2 separate regions of the Homo sapiens genome follow, and region 1 is linked to region 2. Evidence: promoter capture Hi-C in 16 types of primary human blood cells and fetal thymus (Javierre and others, 2016). All regions are on one chromosome and are shown on one strand. The core of a region is centred on a gene start or on the middle of the fragment in contact, and the rest is flanking DNA. Distances in the headings are between cores, read along the strand shown.

Region 1 (3,503 bases), core at 814-3,313, 6.5 Mb before region 2:
GAATCCAATGCACATTTTCTTCAGTTTTGATAACGTTACTGTGATTCCTCGCTTGTCCAAAAGAATCGAAGAATGAGTTCGTTCTAGCTTTCTACAAATGAATTCTGCATTTCATTCACAATGAAATAAAAGAGCAAAAGTTATCTGAGTATACCACTAAAGTACTATATATCTGTAAATTACTTTACACTTGCTATCCTCGGCTCATCAGATTAAGCTACAATCAGAATGTCTCATTTATAAACGGAAAGTTGATCAGCTTTTTACTTCCGACCACAAGTTTATCTCCCCTCAGATACCACTGATCCAGTGAGGCATTTAGCTTGCCATAGGCCAGGCTGGGGCCAGTACCACGGCATCCGCAAGGGTGCCAACCTTGTTTGCCTGGATGCCTCCAGCAGATTCGCGCAAACTGCAACTGGTTTTACATCAGGAATACTGTTTGACCAAAGAGTAATTTAGGAGCCAGAGATGAAGTGAGTAAACGTTCAACCGAGGGGTCAAGGTTTCAAACGCACACGTTCTCTATCCCACCAGGAAAGTTCGATACTGTAACAGTGTTTTCGTTTTTCCTTGTCCACCCTAAAGGTTTTCGTCAGGATATTCCCAAAGCCTCCGTCGGTCTGGGGGCAGGAGTAGGGAGAAGGGATGAGGTGACTTTTTGGGCGGGGTGGGGGGAACGTCTGGGCAGCCAGGGACCTGCCCATTCACTCCCCTTTCCCAGCCCCGGGAGGGCGCAGCGCCCGGGTGGGGAGCCCGAGCCAGCCCAGGCCGGCTCTGGCCTCCTGACCCAGACAGCGCAGGGCGCGAGGGATCGCGCGGCCGAGCCCGGGTCGCGCCGCTCCCAGCATCGGGGCCGCTAGCCAAGAGTTCGAGGCCTTCCCGATCCGGATGTGATGAAAAAGAGCAACAGAGGGAGAAGTGTTTCAGGATTGTAGGAGTGGAAGAGGGGAAAGAGAGGCAGAGAGGGGGAAGGCCCCCTCGCAGGGGAGCCGGCTGGAGTGAGCTGGCTGGAAAGAGGGGGCGGAGTGCGCGGAGTCAGAGCCGCCACCGCTGCCGCAGTTGCCGCCACTGCGGCGTCTGGGCTGAGCCGGAGGGAGGCGGGAGGACGCGCAGGGGCGGCCGCCGCCGTCGTCAGGCCACCGGGGCGAAAATGCGGCCGCTGCCGGAGGCTCGCTAACTTTCCGGGGCGGAAGAGGAGGAGGAGGAGGAGGAAGGGGCTTGGAGCGACTACGGGGGGATGCGGAGGTAGGTAGTGGTCTCCGGGCGGGGAAGAGGAGGGGTTTGATCCCCATCCCCGGGGTTCTCCCAAACCCGATCTCTCTTTCCAGCCCCTCCCCGCTGGGTCCACCTCGGACCCCTGGGACCCCGCCGCTGTCAACTTGCGCTGTAACAGTTTTCTTCGCAAGTTTCAAATCAAAACTTCCCCGGGGTGGAGTTTGAGGGAGGGAAGTGGAGGGGGAGGGAACGTCCCGCAGGGGTGGTGTGCTCTTCTCTAAAAACATTTTTTTTTTTAATTTTGTATATTTTTCCGCCAGAAGCAGTCAGTTCCCTGCACCCAGCACCTCACAGCCCTTCCTCCGTGCGCCCTGCCGGGCGGCGAGCTAGGCGGCAGCGGCGCGGCGCGGGCTCGGCGGAGCGGCCCATGTCCGGCGCGGGCGAAGCCCTCGCTCCCGGGCCCGTGGGGCCGCAGCGCGTGGCCGAGGCGGGCGGCGGCCAGCTGGGCTCCACAGCCCAGGGTGAGTGCGCGCTTGCAAGTGGCAAGCTTCTTTGTCATTGTTGCATTTTTCAGTTTGCTCACAAGTGCACAGATAGGGGTGGGGGGAGTGCTGTGAGGAGGGGCTCCCACTCGTAGTTGAGAACTTTTGCACAGTTCGCGTTACTCAGGCAAGTTCTTCAGGATCCTTGCCCTAGATCAACAACCGGGTAAGAGGGCGGGAACCGTTGGTCCCTCCACTCCCCCTTCCTTTGGTTGCGAAGAAACAGGATGACAGGATTGCTTCTTTCTTAAGCATATGCATGTTTGGGCCTAAGACTCAATGTGTAGGTTCTGAAGCGCTTCTCCTCTAGGTCTCTTCAGCAGATCCAGGACTGCCGCAGCTCTCTGAACAAGCGTGCACTTACTCCATTTCATCTTTCTGTTTCTTGTTGGCTCCTCTACCACCCGGTTGATAATTCAGGTTTCTGTGACCAGTAGCTTTGGAATGGCTTATGCTTGTTTTCAATAACTGGTTTGTTTTGAAATAAATAAACAAGGTTTATAAGAAACACTTTCCAAGAATGAATTAGCTTCTTTGTGTTCTTCCAAAGTGTAAACACACACAGCCTATAAAATACTCTTGTGTCTGGGAAACTTCCATAACAAGCTTCTAAACGAGTTGAACCTTTCTTCTCTTGAAGGCAATATACTTTAGGTTTCCATTGGTGACAGAGAGGAAGGTTCTTAAACTTCTAATGCATTTTACTCTAAGGATGGTTTTGAGCTAAAGAATTCTGTCACTGATATATCAGAACTAAGTAATTTTTCCAGTGCTCAAAAACCTAGCATATACCCCTGATTTTAGGCATAAACTGATAGCTTTATTTCCCACTTGTACTAATGTAGTGAATCTTAGGGATTTTTTTTAAGGCAGCAAAAATTGGAGAAGGAGTTAACTTTCAAGCTGCAATAGGTAAAAGCAGAAAACATCTTGGTTAAATTAAAATGTTCTGGCACCCAGGGCTGTTAAACTGAATTACATTTATCATTATTTTTTGCCTCTAAATGAGTGACTCAGCTTTCTAAACAGAAAATAAAAATGATTAACTGCAGAAAATCAGAGAACTAGAATGATAAACATATGTTTTCTGAGAAGCAGCCCGTGTTCTCCACCTTGTATTGTCAGCACAATCATTTTCCTGTCATTAGGCATGCCCTTAGTAGTCATATCGACTCATTGATGGGCTGTTTATGCTCACACTTGAGCTGCTAATCACAATTGTTAAACCAGGCTTATGTCAAAAATCAACATCAAACACCCAAGGAAAATAATTTGACCTGGAAATAGCTAATATCTACAATATCCAACTTTAATAGTTTGCATTTCTAAAATCATCTGGGAGAATGTGCAGTGGTACTTAATGTACCTGTGCATTAGGATGCTGGATGGTGTCATGTGATCTGAACTTAAGAACCCGAAAATCTAGAGTGGCCTGAAGTACATTTGTTGGGTACAACACACGTTATCAGTGTAGAAACTCTTGGGTTATATTTTACCTGAAAATTGCCTTAGCTTTAGCAACATAGTTATACATTTTTATTATTATTAGTTTAACTTTGATCCAAAACTTTCTTTAAATAGGGATCAGTTTAATTTAAATATAAAGTTGATTTTTAAAAAGAGAGTCTGCAGAATCTTGTTAAAATATGATGTCTTAAACAGGCAGATGTCATAAGGTGTATTTAAAGAAAGAAATTCTTGGAGCAAATGGTTAGAGGAAAGCTTCAAGGGAAGCTTGGTTAG
Region 2 (3,601 bases), core at 222-2,721:
GCTTTCAGTAAGTGATTAACTTTTATTTTCTAAATTCAATAGAGATCTGCTGGTACTCTGTAAGATACTGTATGACTAATAGTAACGGTTCCCAAGACTTAAGAAAACGTAACTGCAAATTGGCCACAAGTCCAAGGGGTCGGGGCCTCTGCTATCAGCATTGACCTTTACTCTCGGGAGTTCATATTTCCATCTGTAAAACTAGAAAAGATAAAGGGACTTATTCACTGAGCTGTTGTGAGAATAAATGAGCACACGAAACCATTTGGCAGTGCCTAGTACACAGTAAGCAATCTAATATTATTTATGTCATTGTATCCATATATATATGGATACATACATATATATGGATACATGGATACATACATATATACGGATACATACATATATATGGATACATACATACATATATATGGATACATACATATATATGGATACATACATATATATGGATACATACATATATATGGATACATACATACATATATATATATGGATACATACACCTGGCTAATTTTTTTATTTTTTAGTAGAGACGAGGTTTCACCATGTTGGCCAAAAAGAAACAAAGGAAAAGTCCTATCAATTAGATAGCAGTTCTATATTACAGGCAATAATATTTTTTCTTAAAAAAAAAAAAGGTAGAGGATGATGGAAACCGCTCCTCCCACAAGTAAAACAGCTGGAGCTCTCAATCTCAAATTGCCAATCCGTCACTCACATATTCAGATCTAGGGCCACTAATCATCATCCGTGGTCCCGAGCTGTGAGAGCAGTAGCAAACAAATAGGAAGAAAAAGAAGAGACACCAAACATCAAAGGGCTGGATAGCTTGTAAAAAACCAAAAGTACCTCTAGTATAGGCGACACTAAAACTTTACAAGTGAGTCAAAACGGCCCCCTATGGAGTTGGAATGCAACACCCAACTCCGTCCCCACCTCTCGGAGCTCTCAGCCTACACGCTGCAGGGGCGCGAGCCACAGCCAACCTGGGGAAGATGCGACCCAGGTGCCCGCCCCAGGCCGGGGCGCCGAGTGCCAGCGCCAGGTGCAGACGCCGCCCCGTCTCCGCGGAGCCCGGGGATGCCCACGCCGGGGCGGCGGCCGGGAACCCCGGCCAGCGGCTCTCCGGGACCCCAGTCCCGCCTGCGCCCTCTCCAACGTCCGGACACGCCGTGACAACGCGGCCGGGCCCGGGGCCCGCCCCCGGCCGGTGACCGCAGTGCGCGGAGGCTGAAGTCGTAGGTGGGCGTCTGGCTTCCCCGGCCTCCTCCATCCCTCCCCGAACCTGAGCCCCGGCTCCGTCCGCCTCCCAGCCGTCTCACCGGCCTCCCGCCCGCCTCTCCGCCGCGCGCGCCCGCCTTCCGGCCTCCCAGCGCTCAGTCCTGCCGGAGGCCGACGGGAGCCGCCGCCTCCAGCTCGCGCCTCCGCTTCCTCTCGGACTCCTCCGGCTGCCCCTCACCCCGGCAAGTGGCCAGGAGAAAGCCAGCTCGCCGCTGGGCCTCCTCCCACGCTTCCCGGCCGCGACCAATGGGCCCCCGCCGCCGGGAAGCCGCGCCCGCCCCCTGGCGGTGGAGGACCAAGCGGGCGCCCGGGCCGGCCAGAGGGAAGGGCCGGAGAGCGGAGGGAGGGGTCTGCGGTCCCGCCCACCGCCCCCGGCCAGGCGCTGCACAATCTGAACTTGCCACGTGGGAGCTGCCGCCGCCGCAGCGGCCCTGCGCCGGGTGGCACTACGGGAGGGAGAAAAATGTGTCACCGCCGTCTCCCCACCGTTTACACGCACAAAATCCCAGCCTCAAGGGCAGAACATTTTAAATGACCCACCCATCCTAGAGATGCGCCAGTTAGGTCATCTTATATATCTTGAGATAGCTGAGATGGTCAGATCAACCAAGGACCTTGGGTTATTTGCCGTTTGACTTCTTGAACCCTAGGAAACTGATTCTGAAAATCCTACTGTCCAGCGTCATTAGAATTCTGATCACCTTTAATGCACCACCCAAGAAGAACAGTAGTCCTTGCATTTTCCAAGTCACGTTTATTTTTTAAATTATAAGATACACAATCGTTAGAAATATTTTTTCTCAGGAGATTTCCTACAATTGTGTTGATAATTGGGAAGTTAATCCAAATCTTACTACATAAGACCTTAGAATGCAAAATTATTTCATAATTCAGATCCATATTCTAAAATAATGAATAACTGTTACCTAGTATTTGACAGAATATTGGGATCATCAGTGGTTGCAGAAATTAAATTGCATTTAAAAATAGGGTTTGACTATAGTGTGTTAATATAGAATTAATAATCTACCAAATTTTAGCTTTCCTCCAAAAATATAAAACACACAAACTAATAGTAACTATGAATTCTGGAGTTTGTGATCCGTGATCAGGGGAGAAAGCATGAAATGAATTCTCATTGTCTTCCATGTGCCAATATTATGCTATTTGTGTATTACTTAAATCAAAAAACTAAGACTCCAAAACTGAGTTTAAATATCTTGCTCAAAAATACAAGATAGTAAGTTATGAAGCTGGAATTCCGGCCTAGCTTCATGTAGCTCCAAATAAACAAAAAGGCACTTTGCTTATTATAGTACCAAAAAATCATAACACTTACTGTACACATGCCTCTCCTAGACTGCTATGTCTCACTGAAAGAGTTTATGAAGCCTCTTGAGTAGGGAGGTCACGGTGTATTTCTGAAAGAGCAATCTGCTCTGTAACCGAGCCAACCAGATTGGAAATTACATGTGACATATTCTTATAGCACCACACCTGAAACAATTCCTGTGCATAAAGTTTAATGTGTTAGTAGCCTATTCTCCACTGACCATAAGATATAGCTTAGAACCCTTTGGTAGGTAATGAAATTAATAACAATGGGTCACAACCAACATTTTGTTGCTGTTGATTCACTGAAAAATAGAAAAAAAAAACAGTTCAAAGCATAAATTCAGGATAAGTATTCTTCATGAAACATTTGTACAGCATCATGTGTGGGTGAGTGTCTGTGTGTCTATGTCCTGGATACAGTAGAAATTATATTTCTTAATATGGGTTTCAATTTTTTTAACATTGGTAAATCACTTCTTTAGGACTCCTGTTAATCAGCCAGTTCTTACACCTATAAACGAGTAAGGATAACTTCCTACTTTTACTTGGCAGGAGGTAGGGGAGCCAGGAGAAGTATTCAGGATTAATGATTAAGCTTAATAAAACCACAGAGCTTTACAGCTCCAGGAGGTATAAGCCAAAGGTGTTGGCTATTACAATAACTACCGATAATTTATATTATATAATAATAGCTACTGATAATGTATATTTCTAAAGCTGATATTTATTGTGTGCTTATTGTGCACCAGGCACTTTTCTAAGCACTTTATATATATAGACTTATTTAATTCTCACAATAATCCTATAAATACAGCGGAGAAAAGTGAAACTTGCTCAAGGTCCTTCTGCTATGACCAGACAGAGCTAAGATTCAAACTCACGTGCTCAACTTCAAAGCCCAACTTTTTTGTTGACTCGAAAAGAATATACAGAGAGTGTGACATCCAGCTTCTGAGTGTCATCCTTCATAGCACAAGCAACA

Evidence for each region. The method cuts DNA at HindIII sites, captures the fragments that hold promoters and counts their contacts. A CHiCAGO score of 5 or more calls a contact.
Region 1: a contact is called between a fragment that was not itself captured here and the fragment with the promoter of FAM3C in region 2, in 1 of 17 cell types (non-activated CD4 T cells). The highest score is 6.8, in non-activated CD4 T cells.

The regions. Positions count from the first base shown.
Region 1 is chr7:114,921,389-114,924,891 of GRCh38, forward strand. It overlaps MDFIC (MyoD family inhibitor domain containing), which reads left to right and starts at 706. Exons shown (of 5, transcript NM_001166345.3): 1 at 706-1,248; 2 at 1,539-1,739. The coding sequence starts at 1,646. RefSeq lists silencers at 646-785, 1,116-1,165, 1,176-1,355, 1,586-1,725. The HindIII fragment of the contact is 601 bases long and covers 1,764-2,364 here.
Region 2 is chr7:121,394,837-121,398,437 of GRCh38, forward strand. It overlaps FAM3C (FAM3 metabolism regulating signaling molecule C), which reads right to left and starts at 1,472. Exons shown (of 10, transcript NM_014888.3): 1 at 1,326-1,472. It also overlaps the pseudogene CYCSP19. RefSeq lists enhancers at 509-1,094, 1,095-1,679 and silencers at 907-1,736, 1,777-1,836. The HindIII fragment of the contact is 3,372 bases long and covers 1-3,212 here.